Linked DNA regions of Homo sapiens: regions 1, 3, 4, 5, 6 and 7 are each linked to region 2. The links are contacts of gene promoters, found by promoter capture Hi-C in blood cells and fetal thymus (Javierre and others, 2016). All regions are on one chromosome and are shown on one strand. The core of a region is centred on a gene start or on the middle of the fragment in contact, and the rest is flanking DNA. Distances in the headings are between cores, read along the strand shown.

Region 1 (3,422 bases), core at 315-2,814, 290 kb after region 2:
ATTATTTATTGTGCAGAATTGAAGGGAGCAAATAATAATAGAAAACTGCGTGCTGAATGCCAAACAGATAACCAATTCTTTAAATGCTACAGGAGTCCAGAGCAGGGATGATGCTGAAGGCTGGAATTGCAGAAAGAGGACCACCTGGAAAAAAGCAGGCCTAAAGGTGGACCTAGAGGGAAGGGAAGGTTTTGAACAAGCAATGAGGAAAGTGGAGGACAAGTTGGGCAGCGAGTGTGACACAGCCAGGACTTGGGTAGAGCAGCCTTGACAATTGGATCCATGGGGCAGCAAGGCAAGAAGGGAGCTAGTCACTCACCTATCCTTAATGGGCAGTGGTAGTCTGCTAGGCAACAAATGATCAGAGAACTACCCAGTCCAGGGAACCAATGGAATGTCACTGAGTTCCTGATTCTTCCCAGCAGCAACAACAGCTGTGGTGTTCATCCTTTGGCCAACACCCAATCCAATCCTGTCTCTTACCCTGTCTCACAGGCCCTGGGGGTTGGTGGAAACAGGGCAGGGGTTGGGGTCTGGATTCTGAGCTGTAGGAATAGGAAATGAGGGGAGATGCTCAGGTTACCTGGTTCCGTACAGACTCATTTTTCTGAGAAACAGGATCTGTGTGCATCCAAAGCTCTAATGAAGTTCTTAAGGCCACCTGGGGGGAGGATGAAGAAACAACACTTAGAATCAGTCTCCTGTTCTGGGCCATGCCTAGGGGATAGAAGTCAAGGGAAGAGGCGGTGGTTCCTGCAGTTAAGACCGCAGAACAACAAAGGAGGAAGATTTAATTAAAAAGGAAGGGGCTGGGGGACATGCCACATACCTGTCCCAGCTCCACAAATGAGTCAACATTCTCTAACTGCACGGGAAACTTGCCCTTCTCCATATCGTAGACCATCCTCGAGCTGCCAATGTAGTCAAAAGTTTCCTGAGAGATGGAGGTAGGTGGGAGGGGGAACAGAGATTCCAAAGGGTTAGGAGAGCCTCGAAGGCGGCCAGATCATCAAAGCTGTAGGTAAGACGACTATCTCAGGTCACCTCAACTGCTAGTCAGCTTACAGTCATGTGACTTTCGGCTTCTCTTGGCCCCACCTCCCAGCTGTGACTATCCCTCATATGTATTACAAGACTTCTGAAGCCCAGAAATGGGGAAAGTAGCCTTAGTAAAGGTCTAAGATGAACATCAGCTATTATGTGTCTGATTCTTAACGGTCCCCCACCTCCAGTGACTCAGCCACAGATGCTGTTCCCTTATTCTGCTGTGGTCCTAGTGATGAGAGTCAGGAGCCTAACGGCTCCTGGATGGAGATAGCAGTAAAGGAGTCCAGAGAATAAAAGTAAAAGGCCGCCTCCAATATATCTTATCAGTGGGGGAAAGAGGGGGCTGGTTACATACCAATTCAGGGTGTAAAAGCTTCCTAAAAAGAAGGAATCTAAGCTTCCTAAAATGGAGGAATCTAAAGGGGAGACACATGTAGACACATCCAGAAGCTCTGTGCTGGTTAACAACTTAGGTCAAGTGCTGAGGTCTTCTCCAACCAGTAGCCACTCTCATCTTTACTATCCTCTTTCTTCCCTGCCATTGCACCCCAGCCAAAGAGCCCTTACCCCTTGAAAGAAGACAAACATGACATTGCGGGGCAGGGTGGTCACATCAGGTGCCTTTTGCAAAGCTTCAGCAGCAGCCAGCTGGGTGACAAAGGAAGCCACTGCGCTTTCAGCCCCTGGGGCCACATTCCAGAAAAAGGAACGACTATCCAGCTAGGTACAACAGAAGAAAAGTCAGGGGATATATACTTTAAAACTGGCCCCAAACCTCCTTTCTTGCTCCAGTCAAGAGAATATACCTGTCCTGTGGCAATGGAGACAACCCAGGAGTCCCACAGCCCAGATTCCTCCCCATTTGAGGCTTCCCAATTTAGCAACTTTGAAATCTGATATGCTAGAGCGGGGCCTACCAGCTCTTTTTGTGCCAGCCCTGCCCATCCTGATCAGAAGCCAACACTCACCCGGGTGGCAGCAACCACAACCCTGTCGTCAGGCTTTAATGTCCCAGTTGTATTTATAGGCTTTAGCATGCTCCACACATTGTAATCAGACAGGGGGTCACAGACGATTTCTAAGCAGGACACAAACAATGAGAGATCAACAAGGCTAAAGGAGAAGGTAGCTATAAAGGCAACATTGGAAATCTCTGACCAGTGCCCCACGGACTCTAAGTCGTTTTCTCTACTTCCAACAGTCCGAGGTTGGCTTCTCTGCCACTATCCACTTTAGGAACAAGCTGCCTAAATTTTTCAGAATTGTTTCTAGTTCTCCCATGCAGAGCTCCTTCATGGTGTCTACTCCTTCCCTATTACAGTCTCTCTAACATTCCCTGGCCTGGTTCCACTCTCCCTCTGCCCCTTATTCCATTACCCTCATGGTTCGGATCTGCCCTACCTGGGTTGATGCTGAAGGTGCTTTGGATGGAGCTGCGCCGCATGCAGGTGGCAGTGCTGATGACAGCATGCATGTGTGAAAAGAGCTGCATGGCACATAGTGGGAAGGTTGGTGCTGAGCCATTCTGACTCAGGTTGTGATCTTGATAGCACTGAAAGGGGAGATGGACCCCACTGAGACAGCTAGTTTGTGGAGGCCCTCCCTTACATCCCAGAAGGAGGAGGGCCCAGTTCCATCCTTTTGGGATGGAGCCACACCCTTTTCGGAGACATTTATCCCTGAGCTATAGTTATCCTAGAACCACCATAGGATCTATAAGGTCAAAGAAAAAAACTCATCAAGAGTTACAAAGGGTTGCAGACTCAGTGGTTTAGCTGGAGATGAAACTATCCCATTCCAGATGGCCTGGCCCAATTTGAAGCTTCAGCCACTGAAAAGATTCAGTGTGGTCTGATACAAAGAGCACCAAACTAGAGATAGGAAATCAGATATGACACAGCTTGGAGATCAACTCACCATACAACTTTGGACAAATCTCTTAACTACTCTATGAGTCAAAATGGAAATACTAGACCAGAATTAAGGCATATTAGAGCTAAAAAGAAGCTCAGAAATTACCAAATTGAATTTCTCAATCTCTAATCCAATGCTTTTTTTTTTAACGATACTAGTGGTTCTTAACCTGGGCTGTGTACCTTGTTTCATATTACTCTTTCAGATATTCTTTATATTTTCTTCTAGTCTAAAAGGCTTTAATGCTGTAATATCAGGTAGGAGCAAAATGTGGGGAAAGAATGTGAGAAGAACTAACGTCTTGGTTCTTTTTGGAGCAACCGTCTTTCAGCAGGTGTACCAGAAGAATGAGCCACCCTCCAAATAGGAGAGCCTATAAAATAATCCTTTTTTTTTTTTTTTTTTTGTGACACAGGGCCTTGCTCTGTCACCCAGGCTGGAGTGCAATGGTGCCATCTCAG
Region 2 (3,321 bases), core at 284-2,783:
GAAAAAGTACCCTTGTACACTGTTGTTGGGAATATAAGTTAGTACAACCACTGTGGAGAATGGTTTGAAGGTTCCTCAAAAAACTAAAAATAGAGCTACCATATGATCCACAATCTCACTGGTAGGTATACACCTAAAAGAAAAGAAATCAGTATATTGAAGAGATATCTGTACTCCCATGTTTATTACAGCACTATTCACAATAGCCAAGGTTGGAAGCGACCTAAGCGTCTATCACCGATGAGTGGATAAAGAAAATGTGGTACATATACACAATGAAGTACTATTCAGCTAAAAAAGAATTAGATCCTGTCATTCACAATGACATGGATGGAATTGAAGATCATTATGTTACGTGAAATAAGCCAGGCACAGACAGACAAACTTTGCACGTTCTCACTTGCTTGTGAGAGGTAAAAATTAAAACAATTGAACTTGTGGGCATAGAGAGTAGAAGGATGGTTACCAGAGGCTGAAGGGTAGTGGGGGTTGGGGAAGAAGTGGGGATGGTTAATGGGTACAAAAAAATAGAAAGAATGAATAAGAACTAGTATTTGATAATACAACAGTGTGACTATAGTCAATAATAATTTAATTGCACATTTAAAAATAAAAATATAATTGCACTGTTTGTAACACAAAGGATAAATATTTGAGGTGATGGATATCCCATTTACCCTGTGTGATTATTACATATTGCATGCCTCTATCAACATATCTCATATACCCCATACAAATATATGCATACCCCATACATATATATATACATACACACACACACACACACACACACACACACACACACACACACACATATATGTATATCTACTATGTACCCACAGACGTTAAAAATTAGAGGAGAAAACACACACACAACAAGGAGACTGAGCTGGAAGGATGGAGCTCTGGGATAGATTTGTCCTACATCCCTGCCTGGGAGGGAATCCACACACATGCAAGAAGACAAACTAGGAGCATGGGCTACTAAATTATACCACATTGCACTCATCGGGGTCACAGGGTTTCTTCCAAGTGACCCGCACATGCCCTTCCCATCTCTGTGTGACAGTGGCACCTGCACCAGACTGCATGTTGAGGTGTCATCTGAAATTATGAAATAAAACAGAAGTAAGAGGTCTATTAGCTCATCAAAATGCAGTTATCTAAGTTCAGCTGTGAACTGCCAAATTTGAGGAGTGATCCAATGAAACATCTTTTCTTTGCAATCCAAGAAGACTTACCGGAGAGAACTGCTCAGAGAATCTGCAACATCCGGTTCCTGGAGACAGCTAAGGAAAGAAGCTGGGGCGCATGTTTCTGCCCAAAGCCGGGTTTTGGCCGAGGTGACTACACACCCCCTTTCCTGGCTCCCATAGGCTAAGTGCCTGGCTTCTTGAGAAGCCTGCTTCTTGAGAACAAAAAAGTGATTTAAAGCCTCATGGGAGATGAGCAATCCTCAAGACACAAGCAGAAAAAGTCCCAGTGATACAGGAAGCGGGTTCAGGAACCTGCTGGTTCCTGATACATAAATCAGACAGCCTCTGCTGCATGACACGAAGCTTGCTTCTGCCTGGCATCTGTGAGCAGCTGCCAGGCTCCGGCCAGGATCCCTTCCTTCTCCTCATTGGCTGATGGATCCCAAGGGGCTCCTCTCCTTGACCTTCGTGCTGTTTCTCTCCCTGGCTTTTGGGGCAAGCTACGGAACAGGTGAGTGTTCATCTGCCTGATGGTTTGAGTCCCATGTTAGCTGCCAGGAATCAGCGTATCTTCGTGGATGGAGAGAAGGTGCAGGGCTGGGTATTGTGTTTGGTCACTCTTCCTTAGGGACTGGCTGTCAGTTTCAACTGCCTCTTTCAAAGAGGAAGGAACATTATAAGTTCCTGGGCCCTTGGGTTTCCAAGACTCAGCCCCACCAACCCCAGTTTCCAAGGAAATGAGGGGCTCTAAGCCAAAGGCTCCAGTCACTTTTCTGACCAGTCTTAGGGTGACAGGCCCTGGTAGAAGTCTTGCTTGAGTGGTTGGTTTTACATGGGCATCTTCTGGCAAAGACCCAGCCTAGAGAGACTGAGCTGGATGGACTGAGCTCTGGGAGAAGATTTGCCCTACATCCCTGCCCTGGGAGGGAATCTGTGCACATGCAGGCTGACAAACCAGGAGCATGGGTCAACAGAAAGCATTGGCTAGAGTGGGAAGAGAGAGTAGAAGTGAAAACTCCAGGCTTTTGGCTGAGAACCAGCAGTGGCCACAGTGCGGTCATACTGGTGTGTATTTTCTTGGAAGAGAAGGTCCAAGAAAGCAAGAGGGAAGAAGTTGGGATTTCTGAAGGCTAGGGCTGGTTACAGTATGTGGGAAATGCAAATTGGGAACCCTCAGAGAGTAGCTCCAGCAGGAAGGCCAGACAAGAGCTACCTTTGGATCTGGACTCTGTTCCTGTCTTTCTGTCTATCTTCTTCCCAAGGCAGGCTATTGCTTTCTGTTTAGAAGTATCAGGGCTATGAGAAAAGGTATTTGAGAAAGAAAAAGCCAAGCAAGAAGTGGACTTTGGACTGCCTGTGTGAGTGGGGTGAGAATCTCCTTCTGCTTATTTGTTTAGACTGTGGGAGGTAGCCTGGAGTAGAAGAGGTGGCATTACGGACACGGGGGGAAATCCTGAGGCCCAGGGTGTTTTAAGCTTGGGGTTTTCAAGACCGCAAATCCAATATGGACTTTTCCAGGAAAAGCACCGTGATATGCCAGGGATGTGGGGGTGCTGCACAATGGATGTGTCTTTTACCAGACAGCCAGACGAACAGGGCTTGCTCAGCCCACTTTCTTTTGGAATCTGCAGATCCATGGCTCGTACTTCCCAAGGTCTAGGGGAGGAAGAACTGAGCTCGGGGCTCAGAAAACCAAATCGAGCCACTTTAAGTGGTCACAGGGAAAGCCAAGCCTCCGTTGTTGCAACCAATTTGTGACTGCACCATTTCTGGAGCACCTCTTGGTGACTGTAAGGTGTGATGGAGTGATGGTGCTGAACTGTGAACTGGACTTTTCCATCTCTGTGCTTGCTAGCCTCTTGGCCAGCCTGGCCCATAGCATCTTAGGCACTGCTGACCAATAGCTCGTCTTATTGAGGCTTTGGAAGTCGCCGGTCAGGGAGAAGCAACCCAGCCCCACAAGGCAAGTCTATCCAATCGGAGGCTGCTCACTTCATTGCATGTTTTCTTCTTTGAATCTTCACAAAAGTTTTTCAGTGTTTTTATTTTTAAATACACACCCTTTTGTGAAGCCCCAATAAAACCCAGACAGAAATGCTTTGCAAATGGGGCAGGTTAGTCATGA
Region 3 (3,022 bases), core at 68-2,567, 360 kb after region 2:
GTACCCCTTTCCAAGCAGAGGTCTGTTTTGAACACTAAGCCAGTATTGTTATAATAACAACAATAATGATAACACTGCAATAACTGCTAACGTTTATTTAATGTTCACTGTGTGCCAGGCACTATCCTAAATACTTTAATAGGTATCATTAAATGAGGTAGGTCTTACAATTAAGTGTATTTTACTGATGAGGAAACGTGAACAGAGAAATTAATTACCTTGCCCAAGGAAAAGTAGCTTTTTATGCAGCAGGGCCAAAATCCTTGTTTCTTTCCTTCTGTTCCAGCTCCTTCATGACCAAGTAGGGGTAATCCAGTTTGGCCCCTACAAGCAACTGTTCCTACAGACATACGCCCGAGGCCGCACAACCTATCAGGCTCTGCCCTGCCTACCCTCCATGTATGGCTATCCTAATCGCAACTGGTAAGGCCCTTTTCTCTTTGCTTTCATCTGTTCCAAGTTGTGGTCGATATTTCAGATGGTAGCCTCAGTGACATAGTCAGAATTCTCTCAGAGCTAGGGTTTCCCAGTAGAAAAAGATCTTTGGTTTGTTACTCTATGGGGTTGGTTTACACCTGCTGTCATCCTCTTCCCCAGCTACTTTAACAGGAGACAGGAGGGTAGCTATGAGGATGTTTGCCAGAAAAGGAAATTGGGTCCTAGTTGCCTACTGACTATCCTGTCTTCTTCCTACTTTTCCCTTTCCAGGAAGGATGCAGGGCTGAAGAATGGTGTACCAGCTGTGGGCCTGAAGCTTAATGACCTCATCCAACGGTTGCAGCTGTGCTACCAGCTCACCACAGTTGGCAAATTTGAGGAGGCTGTGGAAAAATTCCGTTCCATCCTTCTCAGTGTGCCACTTCTTGTTGTGGACAATAAACAAGAGATTGCAGAGGTAGGAGGGTCTAGCCGCTGTCCCAGTTCTGGGCACTTCCACATTCTTGTCTCTGTATCCTGACCTTCTGCCCCCTCTACAGGCCCAGCAGCTCATCACCATTTGCCGTGAGTACATTGTGGGTTTGTCCGTGGAGACAGAAAGGAAGAAGCTGCCCAAAGAGACTCTAGAACAGCAGAAGCGCATCTGTGAGGTAAGATCTATAGGACCCTGAGCACAACAGAGACGTCCTTCCCTTCACCCTTCACTAGGTTTGAATTCTTTAATTTCAAACCCAGATCTGAGTGGGGATGAAGAGAAATTTAGGCCCTTCATTTCTATGAGGGGAGGATACATTTCTTCATCCTACTTCCTCATCTCACCAGTCCTCCATACCTAGGAGGTAGAAGACCTCTCAGCTTTATAGCCCATCATCCTATTTTGTGTTGTGTTTTTTATGCATGTGTAGCAGCTTAGAAATGACTTCTACCAGGTGTAGCATCAACCTGGCATGTGTTCCTTTTTCTGTCCACCAGATGGCAGCCTATTTCACCCACTCAAACCTGCAGCCTGTGCACATGATCCTGGTGCTGCGTACAGCCCTCAATCTGTTCTTCAAGCTCAAGAACTTCAAGACAGCTGCCACCTTTGCTCGGCGCCTACTAGAACTCGGGCCCAAGCCTGAGGTGGCCCAACAGGTAGATGGAACTCCTTCAGTGACCATAGGGAAGCCAGATCAGCTCTTACATGGAGGGAGCAGACCAAGGTCCTTGCCTCTGAAACAAAGCAATAAATAACAACATTCAACAAAAAGCCAACAGAATGCTACCCTCTGTTTACTTCCTGACTTGGTGTTTCCTTTGTTCCTGGAAAATTAATAGTTTATTGAGACATGGCACTCGTCTAAGAGTGCCGTGCAACCTAGAATAGCTCCACTGCAGCTGAAAGTAACCCCAGTCCTGTCCTTAAGCTCCAGATATCCCATCACAACCACCACAAAGCTTCACATACACATCTCATTACTTGTGTCCTCCAAATGCATTCTTTTTGGGTGATGGAAGTCTGTTTTAACCCTTTCTAGGACCTGACCCTGATAATCTCTAGAGTTGGTGGAGGAATGTGGGTCTAGATTATGGAGCCACTTTTGTATTGAGAAGGGGAAAGTTTGATACAATAGGAATGGTGATTGTTAACCCTTCACATACATCCAGTACAGAGGTTGGGACCTCTTTTCACGCAGTACAGTTGTGTCTCACATCAACGGAACTACCAAACCATGGTGTTGGGATCCTTTGAGGTGTTGTCTGCAGCCTTCTGTCCTCCTAAATACTCCTTCCTTCCCCTAGACCCGAAAAATCCTGTCTGCCTGTGAGAAGAATCCCACAGATGCCTACCAGCTCAATTATGACATGCACAACCCCTTTGACATTTGTGCTGCATCATATCGGCCCATCTACCGTGGAAAGCCAGTAGAAAAGTGTCCACTCAGTGGGGCCTGCTATTCCCCTGAGTTCAAAGGTCAAATCTGCAGGGTCACCACAGTAAGTACTGTCCTCAATAAATATATCTAGGATATTGAGCGAAGGGGAAAAAGAAAGAAACATGGTGGTCCTTTTTTTCTTCTTGTGCTTGTCCCCTGCTCCCTGAGGCAGTGACACTGGAGAAAGCTAGAGCATCTCCCCACTGCTCTTGGCCAGTCAGTGATGAACACCCCAATACCTGTCTACTGTGCCCATTGAGGGGTATAGGGAATACATTTTCTAGGGTTCTCAATCTTACAAATCTCTAACTTGTTCCTTTGTTTGTTTTTCCACAGGTGACAGAGATTGGCAAAGATGTGATTGGTTTAAGGATCAGTCCTCTGCAGTTTCGCTAAGGCCCCCTTTGTGTGCATGGGTCAGTCACCATATGTTCCCCCCAGAGAATGTGTCTATATCCTCCTTCTAACAGCACCTTCCCCCTGCAGCTACTCTTCAGATCTGGCTCTCTGTACCCTAAAACCTAGTATCTTTTTCTCTTCTATGGAAAATCCGAAGGTCTAAACTTGACTTTTTTGAGGTCTTCTCAACTTGACTACAGTTGTGCTCATAATTGTCCTTGCCTTTCCAGCTTAATTATTTTAAGGAACAAATGAAAACTCTGGGCTGG
Region 4 (3,276 bases), core at 95-2,594, 340 kb before region 2:
ATTACAAGGTGATTAACCAAAGGAAAAAGTCTCTGGAAGTAGAAAACTAAAAAGAAGGTTTGGAACAGGCTGGAAGTGAGATTGAAGCATATCACAGAAATGTTAGACATTCTTCAATGTCAGTGCCTTGGATGAATTTATAAGGCTTTGCCTTAAAGTTACTTGTGGGCTTATAAAGCCTGTGTCAAAGCTAAACAAAGCCAGACAATAGTTTAGACAAGAAGTAAGGATAGGTATTTATTTATTTATTTGAGATGGAGTTTCACTCTTGTCGCCCAGGCTGGAGGGTAATGGCGCGATCTTGGCTCACCGCAACCTCCGTGTCCGGGGTTCAAGCGATTCTCCTGCCTCAGCCTCCTGAATAGCTGGGATTACAGGCATGCACCACCACGCCCGGCTAATTTTTTTGTATTTTTAGTGGAGACAGCGTTTCTCCATGTTGGTCAGGCTGGTTTTGAACTTTTGACCCCAGGTGATCTGCCCACCTCGGCCTCCCAAAGTGTTGGGATTACAGGCGTGAGCCACTGCACCCGGCCTAGGATAGGTTTTTTTAAGTAGTAACTATTGCAGTAGGGAAGAGGGCCCAAGGTGAACTGAACTTAACTTCCTTAAAAAAAAAAAAAATGCAGGAGGCCTTTTGAAGGCTGGGATGTGCTAAGGGATAGGCATGAAGATATTAAGGAGAATTGCTCCATGTGACTAGACAATCTGGATTTGTGAATTGGCTCTTGTCCAGAAGAGAAATAAGCACCTATTTTTACGACAGGAGCTAGTAGTGCAAGTTAGAGCAAGGCACCCACCTGGTTGGGAGCTGGAGCAAGATTTATTTCCTCAAATGTTTGCATTTCAAAGAAACTCTCAGGTCCCAGTGAAAATAGCTCTGGGTAGAAGATTTACATCTCAAAGAGGCAGAGAAAGATGTTTTAATTGCAAGCTTTCTTTCTAAGTAATTGCACTAAGATGAAGTTCAGGGGCCTGTGTCTATTGCTAGGTTTGGGCTGGGATGCACAGTAAATTTTTCTGACAGCGATGAGCTTTTTCAGGCAGGCATTTTAAGCGGGGGGCTGAGGTCCTCCTAGGGACAAGGCCTTAAGTTGCTAGAAGCCATGCTAGAGCTTGGTTAAGGAGAGTCTTTGTTACCTGGCGTCTCTCTGCAGTGCCGTTTCAATGCCTTAGAGCAAGAGAGTGGTGGATGGACAGTGATAGTGATTCACGTGCGCAATTCACAACTTGCATTAGCAACCAGGCAAAAGCAAGTGCTGCTTTTAGAGGCCTTGGGAAGAATTTCCACAAGTTTCCGGCCATTGGGATACAGGGGAAAAGGGATTGGAGGGAGGCTCATCGGGAACAATACATTAGGTAATGTTGGGGTTTATAAATCGATACCCCCAAATATAGTACTGAACCGAAGAAGCAACCTGAAGATCTCTCTGACCTTCCCCGCTCCACACGGTCTCTCCCAAAAAGCTGAAGTTCCTTTATTTGCCTAAGATCCAGACCCTCCAAGGAGAACAGTAGGTTTCTTTTCCTCCTGTAAGACCAAAAATGTAACCACACCTGAACAGACCTTTTCATGAGTTAATGCCTGCTTCTCATGGTCATCTAAATTCCAAAGAAAACTATTTACAAGTTAATTTGTTTCCTGATCAAATCATTCTCTTTAGTAATCATTTATTGCCCATCAACAGAATTCCTTTTCTCCCGCAGGATCCAAACTCATTCTTTCTGTAACCTCATGATGGCGTATAAGCTTTTGCACCTCACTGGGAGGTTGGGTCTTCATTCTGAAGGCTTCTATGTATACATATTAAATAAGTTTGTATGCCTTTTTTCCTATTAATCTGCCTTGCGTCAGTGATTTTCAGCAAACTTCAGGGAGCCAAAGGCCTTGGCTCCCACAGTGATAATAAACAATATGACTTTTGGCTATCAAAATTCCTGCTGTTAGTTAAGGAAAAATTGTGACAGTTTCTGAAATGGACAAATACAGGCATCCTTCCAGTGGATTACTAGGATTTGTCTAGACTAGAGGACAGGATGCTTCTGGGGGTTTTCTGATTCTCTACAGGTCAGTATCCTTCCTTGTCTTGTACTGTTTTGCAACTCTAGAAAGAAAAGTTAAATATGTAGAAGCCTGACAGTGATACAAATGATCCCTGTTCATATTAATACAAATGCAAATTGTTTGCCTGGTAGAGATACAATTGATTTTCTCTCTGTAGAAAAAAAGATGATCCCAGCCAGGCGTGGTGGCTCACCCTGCAATTCCAGCACTTTGGGAGGCCGAGACAGGCAAATCACAAGGTCAGGAGTTCGAGACCAGCCTGGCCAATATGGTGAAACCCTGTCTCTACTAAAAATACAAAAATTAGCCAGGCGTGGTGGTGGGCGCCTGTAATCCCAGCTACTCTGGAGGGTGAGGCAGGAGAATTGCTTGAATCTGGGAGGCGGAGTTTGCAGTGAGCTGAGTCCTCGCCATTGCATTCCAGCTTGGGCAACAGAGTGAGATTACATCTCAAAAAAAAAAAAAAAAAAAAAAGAATCCCAGAAATTAAATGTTTTATATTTTTGCCACAAGAAAACACGTGCAAGTATGAAACTTTTTGTAAGGTCCTCTGAGCTGGCTGCACTATGGTCAAGCCACGGTGACATTCCCCCACCCTTGTGATAATGTACTTTGTGATACTCCTGTCCTTGTGAATGTACTTTGTAACATTCCTCCCCACCCTTGTGACAATACATCCTCCCTGCCCTTGTGACAATACACCCTCCCTGCCCTTGTGAATGTACTTTGTAACATCCTCCCCACCCTTGAGAATGTACTTTGTAATATCCATCCCCTGCCTGTAAAAAATTGCTCCTGACTACACCGCCTATCCCAAACCTATAAGAACCAATGATAATCCCACCACCTTTTGCTGACCCCTTTCTCGGACTCAGCCCACTCACACACAAGTGAATAAACAGCCATGTTGCTCACACTAAGCCTGTTCAGGTGGTCTCTTATGTGGACACGCATAACACTTTTATTATTATTATTATTAAAAAAGTAATAATAAAAAGAGACAGAGTTTTGCTCTTGTTGCCCAAGCTGGAGTGCAATGGCGTGATCTTGGCTTGCTGCAACCTCTGCCTCCTGGGTTCAAGCAGTTCTCCTGCATCAGCCTCCCAAGTACCTGGGACTACAAGCGTGCACCACCACGCCTGGCTAATTTTTTGTATTTTTAGTAGAAACGGGGTTTCACCATGTTAGCCAGGCTGGTCTCGAACTCTTGA
Region 5 (3,242 bases), core at 269-2,768, 300 kb before region 2:
TGGGGAGACACAGCTATGGGGAAAAGCAGTCACTATTATGAGGATTGGTTTTGGGTAATGGCAGTTAATTTGAAACCCCTCCTCCCCCCACACTGTGGCAGCATCTCTACTGTCCTCACAAAACCTTTCTTCTGGGTCTCTGCAGAAATACCCAGTGAAATACAGATCAGGGAAATGTTGGAATGACAATGGCCCAGCCATACCTGTGGTCTATGACTTTGGTGATGCTAAGAAGACTGCATCTTATTACTCACCGTATGGTCAACGTGAGTGTTTGCTCCCTAAGTCCAGTCATAAATATTTTCTTGTACTCTTGGAGAATGGTGGCAAATAACAACAATTAATAATTGCTAGTATTTACTGAGCACTTAAAATGCACCAGACTCTTGTCTTGGAACTTAACATGATTTTGTGTCATTTAATTACCATGAGAAAACTATGAAGTTAGAATTGCTGTTATCCCCATTTCACAGCACGTAATCCCAGGTTTCTTCATCACCACCTTGTATACTCTTATAATTGTGGGGAAAAGAAAAAGAGATCAGACTGTTACTGTGTCTATGTAGAAAGAAGTAGACATAAGAGACTCCATTTTGGTCTGTGCTGAGAAAAATTCTTCTGCCTTGAGATGCTGTTAATCTGTAACCCTACCCCCAACCCTGTGCTCACAGAGACATGTGCTGTGTTGACTCACGGTTTAATGGATTTAGGGCTGTGCAGGATGTGCTTTGTTAAACAAGTGCTTGAAGGCAGCATGCTTGTTAAAGGTCATCACCACTCTCTAATCTCAAGTACCCAGGGACACAATACACTGCGGAAGGCCGCAGGGACCTCTGTCTAGGAAAGCCAGGTATTGTCCAAGGTTTCTCCCCATGTGATAGCCTGAGATATGGCCTCGTGGGAAGGGAAAGACCTGACTGTCCCCCAGCCCGACACCCACAAAGGGTCTGTGCTGAGGAGGATTAGTAAAAGAGGAAGGCCTCTTTGCAGTTGAGATAAGAGGAAGGCATCTGTCTTCTGCTTATCCCTGGGCAATGGAATGTTTTGGTGTAAAACCCGATTGTATGTTCTATTTACTGAGATAGGAGAAAACCACCTTAGGGCTGGAGGTGAGACATGCTGGCGGCAATACTGCTTTTTAATGCACCGAGATGTTTATGTATGTGCACGTCAAAAGCACAGCACCTTTTCTTAACCTTGTTTATGACACAGACATTTGTTCACATGTTTTCCTGCTGACCCTCTCCCCACTATTACCCTATTGTCCTGCCACGTCCCCCTCTCTGAGATGGTAGAGATAATGATCAATAAATACTGAGGGAACTCAGAGACTGGTGCTGGTGCGGGTCCTCCTTATGCTGAGCGCCAGTCCCCTGGGCCCACTTTTCTTTCTCTATACTTTGTCGCTGTGTCTCTTTCTTTTCTCAGTCTCTCGTTCCACCCAACGAGGAACACCCACAGGTGTGGAGGGGCAGGCCACCCCTTCAATAATAGTTAAGAAAAGGTGCATACAAAACATTAGCTGGGCATGATGGCGCATGCCTGTAATCCCAGCTCCTCGGGAGGCTGAGGCAGGAGAATCGCTTGAACCTGGGAGGCGGAGGTTGCGGTGAGCTGAGTTCACACCACTGCACTCCAGCCTGGGCAACAAGAGCGAAACCCTGTCAAAAAAAAAAAAAAAAAAGTGCACACTGAGGTTCACAGGAAAGAACCACTAGCAGAGTGGTGAGAGAGATTTACTTTTGTTATGAAGGATAACTTTAATTATCTTACAAAAGACAGTTTTCAGTATAATAAGAGCACAGAAGTTAAGTTGTGGATAAAAAAATCAAAGACATCACTGTTTGCCTTTGATATTTTGATGAAAGCAGGTGATGGTCAGGGAAACTAACCCATGGTAATTGGATGAGAAGTGTGTAAACAGCAATAGGCAGCCACATCTGATCATTGCTTATTCCTGCTGGGCCTTCTCAGATCTTTTTGGTAATCTTTTTGTAGAGTCTAGTTTCTCCTGTAAGCTGTAAGCAGACCTGGGTCCTTTTGTGAGTCCCAGCCTTTGTCCTCTTGCCCCCTATGAACAGAGGTTTCCTTGGGGACAAGTTTAGGACTGACGTGCACCAGCCACTGGCCATAAAGGTACTGGGCTGCACCCCTACAGCCTGGGGTGTTTGGCTGTAGCCTCAGCTTTTGGCTTAGGGAATCCCTGGACTGGCCAATGGGATGCTGCTTCTAGTTCATCCTTTGACTACTTGGCTGTTTCTTCACCTCTTCTTTTTCAGGGGAATTTGTTGCAGGATTCGTTCAGTTCCGGGTGTTTAATAACGAGAGAGCAGCCAACGCCCTTTGTGCTGGGATAAAAGTTACTGGCTGTAACACTGAGCATGTGAGTTTTTGGGGAGATCAATGGCCCACGTGTGGGGAAAAGAAAGAGAGATCAGATTGTTACTGTGTCTATGTAGAAAAGGAAGACATAAGAAACTCCATTTTAATCTGTACTAAGAAAAATTGTTTCTGCTTTGAGATGCTGTTAACCTGTAACTTTAGCCCCAACTCTGTGCTCACAGAAACATGTGCTGTAATGAATCAAAGTTTAATGGATTTAGGGCTGTGCAGGATGTGCCTTGTTAACAATATGTTTGCAGGCAGTATGCTTGGTAAAAGTCATCGCCATTCTCCATTCTTGATAAACCAGGGACACAATGCACTGCGGAAAGCCGCAGGGACCTCTGCCCAAGAAAGCCTGGGTATTGTCCAAGGTTTTCCCCCACTGAGACAGCCTGAGATATGGCCTCATGGGAGAGGAAAGACCTTACCATCCCCCAGCCTGACACCCGTAAAGGGTCTGTGCTGAGGAGGAGTAGTGAAAGAGGAAGGCTTCTTTGCAGTTGAGGTAAGAGGAAGGCTTCTGTCTCCTGCTCATCCCTGGGAATGGAATGTCTGGGTGTAAAGCTGACCACTCCCATTCATTCTATTCTGAGATAGGAGAAAACCGCCCTGTGGCTGGAGGCGAGATATGCTGGCAGCAATACTGCTCTGATACTCTTTGCTACACTGAGATGTTTGGGTAAAGAGAAACATAAATCTAGCCTATGTGCACATCCGGGCACAGTACCTTTCCTTGAACTTATTCATGATACAGATTCCTTTGCTCACATGTTTCCCTGCTGACCTTCTCCTTACCTGTTGCCCTGCTACACTCCCCTCACTAAGATAGTAAAAATAATGATCAATAAATACTGAGG
Region 6 (3,329 bases), core at 264-2,763, 330 kb after region 2:
TGTATTTTCTGAGGTTCCTCTTGTTATTGATTTCTAGTTCTATTGTGTTCAGAAAAGATACTTAATATAATTTCTATTTTTTACAATTTTTTCAAGCTTGTTTTGTGGCCTAAAGTATAGTTTATTCTGGAGAGTGTTCCATGTGCTGATGAAAAGAATATTCTGTAGCCGTTGGGTGAAATGTTCTGTAAATTGCAGTTAGGCCTATTAGATCTAGTATGTAGTTTAACTCCACTGTTTCTTTGTTGATTTACTGTATGGATGATCTGTCTGTTTTTGAGAGTGGGGTATTAGCTCTCCTACTATTATCATATTGTAGTCTACCTCTCCTTTTGGATCTATTAGTGTTTGCTTTATATACTTGGGAGCTTTGGTGTTGGGTGCACAGATACTTATAATTGTTATTTCCTCTTGCTGAATTGACCCCTTTATCATTATATAGTGACCTTCTTTGTCTCTTTTTACAATCTTAGGTTTGGTAGTCTGTTTTATCTCATGTAAGTATAGCTACGCCTGCTCTTTTCTGGTTTCCAGTTTCATGGAATATCTCCCACTCCTTCGTTTTCAGTCTATGTGTGTCTGTATAGGTAAATGGGTTTCTTGAGGGCAGCATATAGTTAGGTCTTCTCTCTTTATCCGTTTAGCCACTCTATGCCTTTTAATTGAAGAATTGAGAGCATTTACATTCAGTGATATTATTGATAAGCAAGGACTTATTACTGCTGTTTTTTGCTTGTTTTCTGGTTTTGTTTTGTTTTTTTTTGAGGCTTCTCTCTTCCTTTTCTTACTGTCTTCTTTTGTGGTTAAGTGATTTTCTTTGGTAATATGTCTTAATTTGATGCTTTTTATTTTTAGTGAGTATATATTAATAGTTTTTGTGCTGTAATTACCATGAGATTCACAAAAAAAAATCTTATAGATAGAATAAGGTATTTTAAAGAGATGACAGCTTATTTTATATCACAAACACAAGAACAAAAACAAAGGCTAAAACACACTCAGAAATTATACATTTAACTCCATTTCTGTTCCTGCCTTTTTGACTATCTCTTTAACATGTTGCTATAGCTATTATTGCTTTTGATATATTTGTCTTTTGGGCTTCATAGTAAAGTTATAAGTGGATTGTGTACCACCATTATAGTAATATAGTCTTCTGGGTTTGTCTATGAACTTAATTTTACATCTTGGGTTTTATATCTTGAAAAGTTTTCTTTTTGCACATTAGTGTTTTTTTTTTTTTTTTGTTTTTTTTTTTTTTTTTTTTTTTACAAATATTGTTTATTTTAATGAAGCTGGTACAGACAATGTCCATTTAAAACCCATATCCCAGGCCAAAAAGTACAAATAAAATCAAAAAGAGCAGTGTTCTGTTGTATTCATTTCTGCATGTATAGCTTTATTAATTGCTAATGAAAATTAGAACTTTTCTGGGATCTTCTGACAAGATTTTTAAAAAATCTTAAAATGCCTTTTCTTCAATGAAGCCATCTTTGGAGTTAGTCATTACTCTCTCCTTATCAGTTATCTTGACTTCAACCCGATATTCCTCTTCTTTTGGTCCAGACCCTCAAATTTAAGAGTAGCTTGAAGTTAAGGAAAGGTCATTTTTCCACAGTTTCAGTTCTCTGAAACACTTCCATCTCCCACTGAAAGTCACAGTCCAGGAGTGAAGTAATCACATGCTAGAACATCAGGGCCAATTCGCAAGTTATTATGAACGCTTGCATTGGTCAATCTTATTTATCACCACAAGCCTGAAAATGCAATGTCCTGAAAAAGGTGGGCTCTCTGTGCACACGTAATTTTTAAAAAGGAGAGGGTAATATGAAGGGGACTGAGGCTTGATCACCAAAAATCAGCACAATGAAAATAAACAATAATGAATAATGAGCACTAGAATTCAGATTACCAGATGTTTCAAAGAGATGGGGTGCCAGTTTTCAATTCCGTTTTTAACACCACATTACAAAAGAACTATTTTTAAAAATGAGAAAGGATTGAGGGAAAAGAAAAAAAATAAAAAGAATATCTAAACTGTTGAATGACCCCCCATTTGTTCCTGATAAACTTCAATCACATCTTCTTCCTCCATTCCCAGTTCTTTTGGAGTATGATTATCAGCAATTCTCTGACCCTCAAAGAGAAACCTGAATGAATTCATTGGAACGCCCTGTCTTTGACAGTATGATTCTTTGAGTTTCTTGAGATGTGTTGTCATTTTCACTTTGAAGTGAATCTCACTGCTATCCTGTCCAATGACTTTGAGTTTAATATATTCACCTTCCTTCTTATCCCCCAAGTCCTCAGTTGAAGGTTTTGCCTCCTGGTCAGACATGATGACAGTGGCTTCACCCGGGGGTCTCCGCACAGCAGCGGCCTCGGGTAAGCAGAACCTCACTCCGGGGTTTACAAATCCTTCTCCCTTCCCCACAGCACAACACCGCAGCTGCAGTAACTTCCGCTACCACATTAGTGTTTTTTTCTTTCAGATCGAAGAACTACTTTTAACACTTACTGTAAGATGGATCTGGTGGTGGTAAATTCTCACCTTTTGTTTGTATGGGAAATACTATCCTTCATATTTGGAAAATAAAATAATCTTGCTGGGTACAGTATTCTTAGATGTCAGGTTTTTTCTTTGAGCACTTGGAAAATGTCATTCCTCTCTCTCTTGGCCTGTATGGTTTGCATTGAAACATCTATTGCCAGACAAATTGGAGCTCCTTTGTGTGTTCTTTGCTTCTTTTCTGTTGTGTATTTTAGGATCCTTTCTTTGTCCTTGACTTTTGAGAGTTTGACTTTTATATGCCTTAGGGTAGTCTTACTTGGGTTGGACCTGTTTGGTGTTCTCAGGCCTTCCTGTACCTGGATATTTCTTCCTCAAGTTTTGGAAAATTTTCTGTAATTATTTCTTTGAATAAGCTTTCTACGCTTGCTCTTGCTTAGCTCCCTCTTGAAAACCAATCATTCTTTTTTTTTTTTTTTGAGACAGAATTTTGCTCTTGTTGGCCAGGCTGGAGTGCAATGGTGCGATCTCAGCTCACCATGACCTCCGCCTCCCGAGTTCAAGTGATTCTCCTCCCTCAGCCTCCCGAGTAGCTGGGATTATAGGCATGCACCACCACACCCGGCTAATTTTGTATTTTTAGTAGAGACAGGGTTTCTCCATGTTGGTTAGGGTGGTTGCAAACTCCTGACCTTAGATGATCCGCCCACCTCAGCCTCCCAAAGTGCTATGATTACAGGCATGAGCCACCACGCCAGCCAATTGTTCTTAAATTTGGTCTTTTGAGGCAATTTTCTGTATCTTGTAGTCTTGTAGGTAG
Region 7 (2,979 bases), core at 206-2,705, 310 kb after region 2:
TCCCAGGTTCAAGTGATCCTGCTGCCGCAGCCTCCCAAGTAGCTGGGATCACATCCGGCTAATTTTTTTTTGTATTTTTGTAGAGACAGGGTTTCCCCATGTTGGCCAGGCCGGTCCCAAACTCCTGACCTCAGGTGATCCCCCTGCCTTGACCTCCCAAAGTGCTGGGATTACAGGTATGAGCCATCGTGCCCAGCCTGTCATACTTTTTAAAAGTGATGGGTAAAGCACTTAAGGGGTCTATATTCAAGCCAAGAGCACAATTTTGCAGTAGAAAAAAGAGTTGCAAATCAAGCCCTGGATAAATATCTCCTGCTATTAAATGCAGATGGCTTCTTCCCAAAGAAAGAAAAACTTTTTTTTTTTTTTTTTTTTTTTGAGACTGAGTCTCGCTCTGTTACCCAGGCTGGAGTACAATGGCATGATTTCGGCTCACTGCAACCTCTTGTATCCTGAGTTCAAGCGATTCTCCTGCCTCAGCCTCCCGAGTAGCTGGGACTACAGGCACATGCCACCACGCCTGGCTAATTTTTTGTATTTTTAGTAGAGACAGGGTTTCACTATGTTAGCCAGGATGGTCTCGATCTCCTGACCTTGTGATCCACCCGCCTCGACCTCCCAAAGTGCTGGGATTACAGGCATGAGTGACCACGCCCAGCCTGAAAAACTTCAATAATTTTATCTTTAGCTTTTCCCTAATCCTACCCCAACCCCATGTTGTTTATCTGACCTATATTTTCATTCTTGTTCTTTTCCCCTCAAATCTTAAACAAGGCTTTCTACCAAGGTTCCTACCTATTTAGAAATGCCAAAATACAAATAATGTATATAAATCTATATTTATATACATATTTCTATCTCTGTAAAGATATCAATTTCTCTGAGCCTTTTAGAGGCTCAATAACTATTTCTGTTTCTTAGTTTGATTTGTCTTTGCAGGTTTGGAATTACAAGCTTCGGCGCTGTCTTTTCACATTGCTTGGGCACTTAGATTATATTCGCACCACGTTTTTTCATCATGTAAGTAGTCATGGTGGCGCTAGTTTTGGAGCATTCTTAGTTTCCCCATAGTAATCTTTATTTGATCCTTGAGAACCCATGTTTTAATAATAGAGTTGTTTTTGGAGTGGCTCTTCTACAATCTGTGTGGTATTGTCCTTTCTGCTTTTTTTCTTTCTGCAAAAGGAAGCACTTGGGATTATACTGAATTTAATTTTATTGGATTCAGTGGATTCTATGGGAAGTCATTGTTTCTCTGTAGGGAAAAGTAGGGATTTGATTTCAGATTTGCTGAACCAAAAAACAAAAGTTTGCCAGCTAATCCCATGTAGGGTATTATTAGTAAGTAGTAGGTGTGTCTGGAAGAAGGTCAGACTAAGATGCCATTTTGATCAGCTAACAAACGTTTCGAAGTATTAACAATCATACCCCTCTATCCTAGGATTTTTGGGTCTGGTGGAGGCTGTTCCCTTAGCCAGGCTTACTACTTTCTTTGATCTGCCAGGTAACATAGTAGATTTAGATAGTGAGGTGCAGATTACAGACTCCCAACCTCTGAATCCAGTTGCACCCTGACAGGATCTCCTTATAGTTCTGTGTATTAGCATTAACTTACACTATTCTTTGATTGCCAGTAAATTAAGTCTCTTTAATTAAGTTAGAAAGAATATGATGAAATAAACAATTTACTGGTTGAGTATATATTATTTCTTTTTTTAATTAAAAAATTCTAGGATAGGAGAGAATGAGAAAATTACAGCTTAAACATTTGAGAATGATAACCACTCAATAAGATAACTTATTAAGTAGGAATTATTTGTCATTGCCATAAAGGACTTCCTGAAGACCCTTGCCTAGAACAAGTTGCCATCTACCTGGAAAGTTACGAAAGACCTTATTTTCTTTCATTTTACCAGCTCACTAAATATGTGTGTGCCTTATACTTGCTAAGCTTTGTGCTAAATACTGAAGGTAGAGATACTATCTCTATTGAAAATAGAAATACCATCTATTTTCAGTGTTTAACACAAAGCTTAGCAAGTGTAGTAAGAAGGAAGTGTAAATAAGAAATACTTCCTTTTCTCAACAATCTTATAGACTCCAAAAAGGCTAAATTGTCTTTACATGTTACTTTCTGCTTTGCTTGCTGAGACCTGGGAATTTTTTGAAACTGGACAGAAAGAAGTCAGACAATAAAATAATATTCCCATCCTAGAGTTAAAGGTAGAAGAGTCTTTCACAGGATCTTAATTTACATGATTAACTGTATATAAATACACACACACACACACACACATATAGAAGTAAATGTAAATGTATGTTTCACTATCTGCCTCTGAGAATGTATTGTGCCTCTAACTGGCTTCCATTCTTAAGTCTTATAGGTGAAAGTGCCGAAGTTGAGAAAAGCTGTTAGAGTGGTAGAGAAAAGGAGACAGCTAACCTGATAGCAAAAGCAGCAGCCCCTTTGCTAATGTAGCTGAGCCGTTAAGCAATGCAGTTCTTTAGAGAAAAATGATTACAAGAACCTGATAGAACAGATTTGTTTAATGTTTAAAGCCTTTGTCTGGAATATCTTTCAGGAATATCCCTGGATTCTGAGTGCCTCCGATGATCAGACCATCCGAGTGTGGAACTGGCAATCTAGAACCTGTGTTTGGTAAAGCAGGAGGCAGAGGGCTCGAAAAGAGTCTTCATTTTTCCTAGTTTTTCATAATGAGCTTCTCTTAGAACAATCTTCTCCCTTCTCAAATGGACTATGTCGGCTGATTAATTACTGATTGTATTTGTAGGATGCTTTTAAGTGCAAAATAATAAATGTAGAGGCAATCCCATATATGAATCTGGACTTCCAATAATTTCTTACCAGGAAGAGAAGTCATATAGCCTTTTAGAACAAGAACTTTTAGCTGGTTTTCAATTATTTTCCCATAAAACCTGAGTCAAGGTCTAGACCTTTGTCTTATTTTGTGTTTGGAG

Evidence for each region. The method cuts DNA at HindIII sites, captures the fragments that hold promoters and counts their contacts. A CHiCAGO score of 5 or more calls a contact.
Region 1: a contact is called between a fragment that was not itself captured here and the fragment with the promoter of SLAMF1 in region 2, in 9 of 17 cell types (total CD4 T cells, naive B cells, fetal thymus and 6 more). The highest score is 11.0, in total CD4 T cells.
Region 3: a fragment that was not itself captured here is called in contact with the fragment with the promoter of SLAMF1 in region 2 in 1 of 17 cell types (fetal thymus); the score reaches 5.5 in fetal thymus.
Region 4: a fragment that was not itself captured here is called in contact with the fragment with the promoter of SLAMF1 in region 2 in 12 of 17 cell types (fetal thymus, naive B cells, total B cells and 9 more); the score reaches 11.3 in fetal thymus.
Region 5: a fragment that was not itself captured here is called in contact with the fragment with the promoter of SLAMF1 in region 2 in 9 of 17 cell types (fetal thymus, naive CD8 T cells, naive B cells and 6 more); the score reaches 7.9 in fetal thymus.
Region 6: a fragment that was not itself captured here is called in contact with the fragment with the promoter of SLAMF1 in region 2 in 4 of 17 cell types (total CD4 T cells, naive CD8 T cells, total B cells and 1 more); the score reaches 7.5 in total CD4 T cells.
Region 7: a contact is called between a fragment that was not itself captured here and the fragment with the promoter of SLAMF1 in region 2, in 7 of 17 cell types (naive CD8 T cells, fetal thymus, naive B cells and 4 more). The highest score is 7.9, in naive CD8 T cells.

The regions. Positions count from the first base shown.
Region 1 is chr1:160,350,399-160,353,820 of GRCh38, reverse strand. NCSTN (nicastrin) reads right to left here. Exons shown (of 17, transcript NM_015331.3): 6 at 2,449-2,599; 7 at 2,016-2,125; 8 at 1,615-1,767; 9 at 830-934; 10 at 584-661. Among named protein-coding and RNA genes, the nearest start is that of NCSTN, 8.7 kb to the right of the region's middle. The HindIII fragment of the contact is 235 bases long and covers 1,447-1,681 here.
Region 2 is chr1:160,645,256-160,648,576 of GRCh38, reverse strand. SLAMF1 (signaling lymphocytic activation molecule family member 1) reads left to right here and starts at 1,533. Exons shown (of 7, transcript NM_003037.5): 1 at 1,533-1,707. The coding sequence starts at 1,632. It overlaps LOC107985220 (a long non-coding RNA gene), which reads right to left and starts at 1,568. Exons shown (of 2, transcript XR_001738266.2): 1 at 1,242-1,568; 2 at 1-1,104. RefSeq lists enhancers at 1,402-1,451, 1,492-1,701. The HindIII fragment of the contact is 11,196 bases long and covers 1-1,561 here.
Region 3 is chr1:160,289,885-160,292,906 of GRCh38, reverse strand. It overlaps COPA (coat protein complex I subunit alpha), which reads left to right. Exons shown (of 33, transcript NM_004371.4): 28 at 287-423; 29 at 709-895; 30 at 978-1,088; 31 at 1,411-1,572; 32 at 2,221-2,415; 33 at 2,691-3,022. The coding sequence ends at 2,750. LOC107985219 (a long non-coding RNA gene) reads right to left here. Exons shown (of 3, transcript XR_001738265.2): 3 at 81-1,650. Among named protein-coding and RNA genes, the nearest start is that of PEX19, 6.3 kb to the right of the region's middle. The HindIII fragment of the contact is 1,121 bases long and covers 757-1,877 here.
Region 4 is chr1:160,985,421-160,988,696 of GRCh38, reverse strand. No RefSeq gene overlaps it. Among named protein-coding and RNA genes, the nearest start is that of ITLN2, 32 kb to the right of the region's middle. RefSeq lists a silencer at 1,004-1,298. The HindIII fragment of the contact is 816 bases long and covers 937-1,752 here.
Region 5 is chr1:160,947,070-160,950,311 of GRCh38, reverse strand. It overlaps ITLN2 (intelectin 2), which reads left to right. Exons shown (of 8, transcript NM_080878.3): 6 at 146-266; 7 at 2,280-2,383. LOC101928372 (a long non-coding RNA gene) reads right to left here. Exons shown (of 6, transcript NR_110695.1): 6 at 390-1,661. Among named protein-coding and RNA genes, the nearest start is that of ITLN2, 6.1 kb to the left of the region's middle. The HindIII fragment of the contact is 5,820 bases long and covers 1-3,242 here.
Region 6 is chr1:160,316,410-160,319,738 of GRCh38, reverse strand. All of the region lies in intron 8 of COPA (coat protein complex I subunit alpha), which reads left to right. It also overlaps the pseudogene SUMO1P3. Among named protein-coding and RNA genes, the nearest start is that of COPA, 25 kb to the left of the region's middle. The HindIII fragment of the contact is 2,829 bases long and covers 99-2,927 here.
Region 7 is chr1:160,333,283-160,336,261 of GRCh38, reverse strand. COPA (coat protein complex I subunit alpha) reads left to right here. Exons shown (of 33, transcript NM_004371.4): 4 at 940-1,020; 5 at 2,583-2,659. Among named protein-coding and RNA genes, the nearest start is that of COPA, 8.5 kb to the left of the region's middle. The HindIII fragment of the contact is 997 bases long and covers 957-1,953 here.